Regions from separate parts of the Homo sapiens genome. Here region 2 is linked to region 1. The links are contacts of gene promoters, found by promoter capture Hi-C in human tissues and cell types (Jung and others, 2019). All regions are on one chromosome and are shown on one strand. Each heading gives the region's core, a stretch centred on a gene start or on the middle of the fragment in contact. The rest is flanking DNA. Distances are from core to core; before and after follow the strand shown. Region 1 holds the start of EXOSC2 (exosome component 2). Region 2 overlaps AIF1L (allograft inflammatory factor 1 like).

What was found. The method cuts DNA at HindIII sites, captures the fragments that hold promoters and counts their contacts. A contact is called where the count stands out against the background at its distance.
Region 2: a fragment that was not itself captured here is called in contact with the fragment with the promoter of EXOSC2 in region 1 in 1 of the 25 tissues and cell types used here (hippocampus).

What each region holds. Positions count from the first base shown.
Region 1 is chr9:130,690,612-130,695,029 of GRCh38, reverse strand. It overlaps EXOSC2 (exosome component 2), which reads right to left and starts at 1,250. Exons shown (of 9, transcript NM_014285.7): 1 at 1,117-1,250. The coding sequence starts at 1,238. RefSeq lists an enhancer at 998-1,187. The HindIII fragment of the contact is 7,301 bases long and covers 1-4,418 here.
Region 2 is chr9:131,118,849-131,123,230 of GRCh38, reverse strand. AIF1L (allograft inflammatory factor 1 like) reads right to left here. Exons shown (of 6, transcript NM_031426.4): 6 at 87-2,996. The coding sequence ends at 2,909. Among named protein-coding and RNA genes, the nearest start is that of NUP214, 4.5 kb to the left of the region's middle. The HindIII fragment of the contact is 3,884 bases long and covers 1-3,671 here.

The sequences.
Region 1 (4,418 bases), core at 1-2,500:
TCTTAAGATTTCCTAGGGGCCAGGCATGGTGGCTCATGCCTGTAATCCCAGCACTTTGGGAGGCCGAGGCGGGCAGATCACACTTGAGGTCAGGGGATCGAGACCAGCCTGGCCAACACAGTGAAACCCTGTCTCTACTAAAAAAAAAAAAAACCAAAAATTAGCTAGGCATGGTGGCGTGCACCTGTAATCCCAGCTACTCAGGAGGCTGAGGCAGGAGAATCACTTGAACCCAGGAGGCAGAGGTTGCAGTGAGCCGAGATCGCACGACTGATCTAAGACAGACTCCGTCTCAAAAAAGAAAAAAAAATTTCCTGGTATCCACTAACCTTAAACTAACAGGTTAAAGGGCAATGCTATGAATGCTGTGCCCCTTGTACATATACAAGTAAAAAAATAATAATAATAAAGGTTGAAACACTAGTGTTATCTATGATGATATAATGGCTGGTTTTACTTCTTTTCTTACATAATTGTCTCATTTAATCCTCATTACCGTATCATACTGTTATTATCACTATCTTACAGATGAGGAAACTGACCGTGGAGAGGCAATGCCGCTAATAAGATGTGATGGTAGCAGGACCGGAACCCCAACTGTCTGACTCAAGAGCCTTCCCTCTTAACCACAATACACTGCACTACACCCCTTAGATTCAAAATGTGTATAAATGGGTGCATGCAGCACAATGTAACTGTTTGCCCTAAGATCGAACAATTACGGATTCTAAACTGAAGAGGAGGCAGCCAAGAACGCCCACCGTCCCCTCAGAGAGCTGAAAACTGGAAAAGAGCCTGCACCTAACCCTCCCCAGCTTTCCAGGTCTCCCACAAGGAAGGATCAAAGATTTGGACTTCAGGCAGAAGACCCAAAAGTCACAGCCACCGGAGGTCAGGAGTGGAGGGTTTCAGGGAGCTGAGACAAATGCAGACGGGGACACACAAGATGCAGGGAGCAAGAAGCACGAGGCTCGGAAGCGAGGTGTGTAGGATGCTCAGACGAAGTGCCCTGGGTCCCGCGGGGAGTTACACACACAGGGATACGAGGCCTGGACCACGTGCAGAGAGCCCTGAAGCCGCTCTCTGAAGCCTCGACTCCCCCAAGTCCCCACGTACCGCATGAATCCTGTGTCCGTAGTGATTGTATCCCCCGGCACCACTAGATGTTTCTTAGTGTCGCGGCCCAGTCTCTCGCTAAGAGGCTTGCGAGCCACTGGAAGCCTCATCTCCATCGCCATCTTGGCGCCAATGAGTTGCGCAGGCGCAGCTCAGTCGGGAGCTGCGATATCCGACTCCACAACTCCAGGCCGCGTTCGGAGGGGCGGGGAAGGGCGGGGACTCAGAGCAGCTGCCAATGAGAACTCACGGCCTAGAGGCCATGTTTACAATTGGCAACAATAAGGCGAACCCGAAGGGAAGGGAGCCGAGCTGCCATGTCTACTATTGGCAAGGAAGCACCCGTGGAATAATAAAATCTCACGTTGTGTGGCGTGTGACTTTTTACCAAAACTGTCTTGTACTCATCATCCCATTTATTGTTTACCAGGGTTAGAGATAATTGAGAAACGGACCTCTGAGTTTCTGTCCAATTCTAAGCTGCTGAAATCCGATATTTTGTAAGAGAGAGCTCAGGAGGATGGAGAGATGGGATCTACAGAAAACACTATTTGAACAGAAAGAAGAGCCCCTTTCCACACGGTTCCCAGTAGCGCCAGGATTCTACATTGCGGCCGCCCCGTGGGTGCTGGCTCAACATCATCATCTATAACCCCAAACCGGGCTCCAGATACTTCTCACTTGGTTCTGTCCTTTCATAAGGACTCCTTTGAACAAGCTAATTTACTCCAATATTTCTTTTGGAAACAAGTTAAAAATCGTCTAAGAAAACAGGTCAAACCTTGCAAGCCAGGTATATTTGGTAGGGAAGGGAAGAGCACACACAATGCGAAGATCTTGGCTTGCATTTAGTTACACAGCGAGTTGAGCGCTCTCTGTGTGCCAGGCGCTGTTCTAAGGACTCAGCGGGGAACAGACGGATGTCTCTGTGGGTTTTTCTGCGGCTCCGTTTTAATAGGAGGGTACCCCTCGCCCCTTCTCCCCGTCCCCCACTACCCTCTCCCTCTCCTTGCCCTGCATTCACAAGAAACTAATTGGGGATGGTAACTCCCCATGCACAGGGACTCTAAAGACGATTAAATGAAATCATTGGCATCAGCTGTGGTCAGTAAAGCCGGTAAACCAAGTCCGCCTCCTGAAGAAAGATCCATCGAGCCAATTGTTTTATAAATCTCCAAAGCGACAGCATTTCTTCCACTTAAGCAAGTCTCACGACCACACTTAAGAAAGCCAGCCCTGCCAGGCAGTCGATGACATGAATGCTAGTGCCCCGAGGCCCTGGGTAAGCGGGCTGCCAGACCCTCGCCCTCTGCCGTGCCTGGAGGAAGGCACTAGAGCCCAGCCCCTCGGTCCAGTCCTGCCGCGGCCATAAGAGGGCGATGGTGTCCTCTGAGCTCGCGTAGCCCGGCAGCCGGGGAGCCAGGCCCAGCGAGCGGCCCTAGGCGGAGCGAGAGTGTAGGCCTGACACCATCCAAGTTCTTCCCGGGAGGGAGAGACGTCGCCTTTACCCCGCGCATTCTCACAGCGTTCACAAGGTTGGCATTGTGGATACCAGTTTATGGAGGAGGAAATCGAGGCCCCAAAAGGAATGGAATTCACATTAGCAGATGGCTGCAAAGCCGATGTGTGTTCCAACTGCACGCGATTTACCCCAGAGCCTGCACCCTTTACCAGAAATAGCCCGAGTGCTTCGGCTGGTCCTTTGCTGAGTGCTTTACAAATACTATGTTATGTATTCCTCACTTTCAGCCCATCTTCGAGATAGGCATTGCTATCCCTGATGATCACTTGGGGCCACCGAGCCCCCCAAACAGACCCGTAACTGGGACTAGAATCCAAAACGACAGGGACTCCCCCTCTCCCATCCCCAGTGCTCCTCTTTCTGCATCATCACACGCACCTTTTTTTATTTTTATTTTTTTCGAGACAGAGTCTTTGTCACCCAGGCTGGAGTACAATGACACGATTATGGCTTACTGCAGCCTCGTCCTCCTGGGCTCAGGTAATCCTACCACCTCAGCCTCTTGAATAGCTTGGACTACAGGCACATGCCACCAGGCTCGGCTAATTTTTTGTATTTGTCTTGTGAAGACAGGGTTTCACCGTGTTGCCCAACCTGATCTCGAACTCCTAAACTCAAGTGATCCGCCCACCTTGGCCTCCCAAAGTGCTGGGATTACAGGCATGAGCCACCAAGCCCGGCCACACTTACCCCTTTACGACCAGTAGACAAGTGGGTACCCGGAGACGAAGCAGCACATCCCAGGGGGCTTGTAAAAAGTATAGATTCCTTAGGCATTGAGGCTGTAAACCCCGAATATCTGAGACAGGTCTCAGTTAATTTAGAAAGTTTATTTCACCAAGATTGAGGATGTGCCTGTGGCACAAGCTCAGGAGGTCCTGACAACCTGTGCCCAAGGTGGTCGGAGCGCAGTTTGGTTTTATACATTTTGGGGAGACATGAGGCATCAATCAACATATGTGAGATGAATATTGGTTCGGTCTGGAAAGGCTGGACAACTCGAAGCTGGGAAGGGGCTTCCTGGTGATAGGTAGATAAGAAACAAATGGTTGAGGCCAGGCGCGGTGGCTCACGCCTGTAATCCCAGCACTTTGGGAGGCCGAGGTGGGCGGATCACGAGGTCAGGAGATCGAGACTACCCTGGCTAACACGGTGAAACCCCGTCTCTACTAAAAATACAAAAAAAAAAAAAAAAAAAAAATTAGCCGGGTATGGTGGCTGGTGCCTGTAGTCCCAGTTACTCGGGAGGCTGAGGCAGGAGAATGGCTTCAACCCGGGACGCGGAGTTTGCAGTGAGCCGAGATCGCACCGCTGTACTCCAGCCTGGGCGACAGAGTGAGACTCCGTCTCAAAAAAAAAAAAAAAAAAAAAGAAAGAAAAAAGAAACAAATGGTTGCATTTTTTGTATTTTTAGTTTCTGATTAGCGTCTCCAAAGGAGGCAATCAGGTATGCATTTATCTCAGTGAGCAGAGGGGTGACTTTGAATAGAACGGGAGGCAGGTTTGCCCTAAGCAGTTCCCAGCTTGACTTACTTTTCCCTTTAGCTTAGTGATTTTGGGGCCCCAAGATTTATTTGCCTTTCACAAGGCTCTGCAAAGGTAAGGTCCAGAAGTCTGTGCGTGTTTTAACTCCCTATGTAATTTCAATGGCGGAAAAGGTCTAAGATTCACTGATGCCACACATCTGTGCATCTCCGCAGCCACTGCCCCAGGCTGATCAACGGCATCTCTTACCAGGGAGATAACCTCCTAGCTTGTCTTCCTAATTCTACTTTTGTCC
Region 2 (4,382 bases), core at 480-2,979, 430 kb before region 1:
TGCTCATTTAATCTCTTACTATATTAGCTAGTTCGCAATTTGCTGAGCCCAGAACCAGCCCCAAAATACACCAATCAAGACGTTGGTAAGTTTGTCTGGTTTATTTGCAGGCTGTAGAGATGATATCCCAGTCCACGCACACTCCCATGCACACGCACACACATACTTCATCCACCTGAATTTGCCCGACAAACCCTCCTCTGAGTCATAGGGACAAAGCCATACTTGGCAGTCCTCACGTTACTGGTTACATTAGATTTGGTCTTTCAGAAAGAAGATGGTTGAAGTCCCAAGAAGCTGAGCCCTTAGCCAGAGAAGTAAGAGTCCTAGAACCAAGAGCCACAACCTGAAATAGATGCAGACTGCCCCCGCCCTCCTTCCAGGGACAACTCTTGAGACCCTCTCCTCCCAGGAGTTGAGTCTCAAGAAATGAAGGGACTGATGGGGTTTCCCAGGACACACGAGCCCCCACCCCCATTCAATGAGAAAACCCTCTCTTCTGCCATTTCCAGAAGCTGGGGCCACACCTGCTTGCTCTCCTCCCTTAAGGAGAATTCCTGCAGTCTTGTAGAACTGTGGAACTTACTGAAATAAGCCTGACTGGTTCTGCCTTCCTCTCTGAGTGAGGAACAGGGACACTGAATATGATGGGTAGTGAAGGAAGGCTTTATCTTCCTCAAAGGTCCCAGCCTGTCCCAGAGAGGAGAGGCAGTGAGGAGGGGTGAGGACATCTAATGATCTTGGGGAAAAAAAAAACAAAAAACAGGGCAGGGTGGGGGTAGAAGTAGGATTTTCCATTTACAGGGAGGAATGTTTTGCTGGGGTTTAAACTTCAACTAGGCCTGTGTGCATTTGAAGCAGATCCTTGAGCTCAAGATCAGCCAGTCATGGCCAAATAACCTCATTCCTGAACTGGTTGAAACCAGTGGGTTAACCCAACCTGGCCATTTCCTCATGCCTTACCTGTTTTCCTCCCTCAATCTGCTATCAGAGGTGACTAAGGAGCCGCAGGGAACCCACGTTGGCTCCAACCACCAAGACCTCCCAGTCCTGTCCACTTAAGGTGTTGCAAAGGCTCTGCCAAGACTCTCACCCAGTCTTGGGCCCATCTAGGCCCCCAGGACTGCAGGGAAGTCACCCCATACCTCCCCCTTCCTAACATTTATCTCATTGTCATTGTCTGGGTCTCACTTTCCTATTGGACTCTAAGTTCCATGAATCTGTCCATTTCATTATTGGATTCTTAACTGTTGGCCTACAGCAAGTGCTTAATAAATATGTTCAGTGAATAACTGTCTCAGTCCTGAGCAGGTAGGGTAAGAGACTTCAGAACACAGGTGGGGTTAAGGCTGAACACCCTGATCAGCCAAGATGGGGCTGACTTTGACATCTTCCTGCATGAATTACAAGAGGCAGCTTCAGAGGCCTGGTCTTTGCCCTAAGCCTGATGCTGACTTGAAGGCATGGGAGAGGGCGAATCCTGGACCAGGGTCTTCAGAGCAAGTGAAACCCTCTCCAAGTGTTGACCTTGGAGGCTGTCTCTTCCCAGCCCTTCCCTGTTCTCATAACTAACTAAGGCAGCCCACACTGGAAATGAGGTGTAGGCAGGGTCCCTGAACATCTGGGCCCCAGTCCAGGGCACCTCCCTCTGGAGATAAGCCTGACCTTGGGCAAGGCACTTAATCCCTGTGGGGCACCAGTCTCCTCACCTGTGAAATGAGAAGTCTGGCCCAGCTACCCTCCAGGGTGCATTAGGGTTCTAAAATCCTGCGAGTCCATAAGAAAGGACACAGGTGACCCCAGTTCAATTCCCAAGCTCAAGGTTCTGAGAGATCTGGGGAGAGATGAGTTAGACCGTGTATACTGCACATGCCAGGACAACATGGGAGGATGTAAAGCTTATAATAGCAGGTCAATAAATATCTGGTGAATGAGTGAGTCAATGAGTGAATTATGTGAGTAGGGTAGGAAGACAAATGAGAGAAGCAGAGTCAGGTTTCAAGCAGATTGGGGTCAGACAAGCAACCTTGTATTTCTCAGTCTTGGCTTACCAGTGCTGCTGACTTTGCCGTGAGCATTTTACTCCTCATTCTCCCATCCTGGTCCCCTCAGTAACCTCCCTAAAAGGTGGAACAGCACTGAGCTGACCTTTCCCCCAAAACCCCAGGCCTCACTTCTGCCTCCGAAGCCCTCTGCTGCCCCAGTAAGGGACAGTAGGGCTGCACGCTGCCTCTCAGCTGCCTGCACAGGTGTGGCCAGAGAGCAGGACTGGAGGGTTCCTTCTGGTACCTTCTTGAAGGGCTCCCAATGCCAAGCTCCTTTCCTTCCCACCTTCACATCACTGAGGATGAGAAGAGGTGTGGAATGAGTGGGGATCAGCTGGGGCAGCGGGGCCCCGAGTGGCTGTGTCCTGGGTGACACCAGAGCACTGGAGCCATGGCACTGTCCAAGGAAACCCGAAAGAGGCCCTGCAGCCTTGTCCCTACTCCAAGGTCTTCTCAGAGTGGCCTGGGGTCCTCGTCAGAGCCAGGTCAGTGAGCCTGAACTTGGCTTGGAGACTTTCTGAAAGGATGGAGAGTGCTGGTTCCTCCAAGTGAGGGGAACACAGGCTGGAAGCCTCCCTGCCCTGGCCCTGCCCCCTCTAGTTTTTGGTTTGATGTCAGCCCTTCTGCACAGGGAGCGGGGAAGGAGGGAAGAAGAGAGGGAGGGGACCCAAGGCTCAGGATTCCCCGACCCAGAGCCCCTTTAAGGCAGATAATTTGTGCTTTACAAAGACATTGATGAAAACACAAACAAACCCTCAATGACCAAACAAATGAGAGAGAGAGAGATCACAGTGTGTCAAGAAGGGCAGCAAGATCGGGAGGGAGGTATGGGGTGGGAAGGCTGGGGAGTCCAGGCGGGGTCCTCAGGGCAGGCTAGCAATGTCTCTCTCTGGAGGGGGGCCAACTGGCTTGGGGCTGCTCTCGTTGGCTTTTCCTTCAAACATCATGACTCTGGTTTGGAGATGGAGAAAAGAAAAAAAGAAAGAAAAACAAGATTAGGATCCTTCCCTCATCCAGGGAAAGATCATCCCAGCCTCATGTCAGCAGGGTCCTCAACAGAATTTAAATCTGTTCTCCAGTGGGATCCTTGCAGAAGCCCAAGACAGCAGCTCCAAGGAAGGGGCTGCTAGTCCCATTTTACAGAGGAGAAAATGGAGGCGCAAAGTGGTGATATGACTCCTCAGAACCACACAGGCGGTCCAGGGCAGAGGCTGGGTACGACTCCAGGCTTCTGACTTCCAGGCCATACCCTTCCCTTAACCACACTGCCTGGAGGAGGCTGAGCCAGGCTGGGCCACGCCTCTGCGCAAAGATCTTCAAAAACCTGCCCACTGCTCTGAGAGTGGTGTCTGGGGAGTAGAGGGTAGGGGCTCAGCGTATAACCTCTAGGGCAACTGCCTAGATTCAAATGCCAGCCCTGCTACTTCCCAGCCGGGTGGCTCAAGCAAGACACTTGACCTCTCTGATCCTTGGCGTTTCTCCCTGGAAGTGGGGTGCTAGAAGATCTGGCCAGATTGGACCGTGGGCTCATGGGCCAGGTACTCAGTCTCCTTGGGCCTCAACAAGCTCCTTTGTAAAATGAGACAGGTATATTTTACATTCGTACTTTAAAAAAGTGAATCTTATTTCATAAAAGCCAAGTAAGTGTTATTTTCTGTTTTCTTTTTTTTTTTTTTTTTCTTTTGAGACAGAGTTTTGTTCTTGCCGCCCAGGCTGGAGGGCAATGTCACGATCTCTGCTCACTGCAACCTCCGCCTCCTGGGCTCAAGTGATTCTCCTGCCTCAGCCTCCCGAGTAGCCAGGATTACAGGCGTGAGCCACAACACCCAGCTAATTTTTGTATTTTTAGTAGAAACGGGGTTTCACCATGTTGACCAGGCTAGTCTCGAACTCCTGACCTCAGGTGATCCACCGGCCTCAGCCTCCCGAAGCGCTGGGATTAAAGGCGTGAGCCAGGGCACCTGGCAGAGTGTTATTTTCAGCTGTGACAAATGACAATGAGACTGCCCTGGGGCAATGCTGTAACGCTCTTCAATGGGGCAGCACCCACAATGTGCTACCACGTAGTAGGTGTTTGCCATCAGCCACACAAGGCTGAAATCTTCATAAGTGTCATTTCACTAGCCCTCAGGACATCACGGAAGACATGATTATCACCCCTATTTTATAGATGAAGAAACTGAGACTCGCAGACCTAAGGTAACTTGCCCAGGGTCATTTTGGTAGCAAGTAATAGCATCAAGATGCAAACCCTGCCTCCCTTTGGGGCCAATTTTTGACTCTATTTTATGCTTACAAGCCTGTGGGGGTAGTGGAGGTGCTTTACAAATGGGGAAA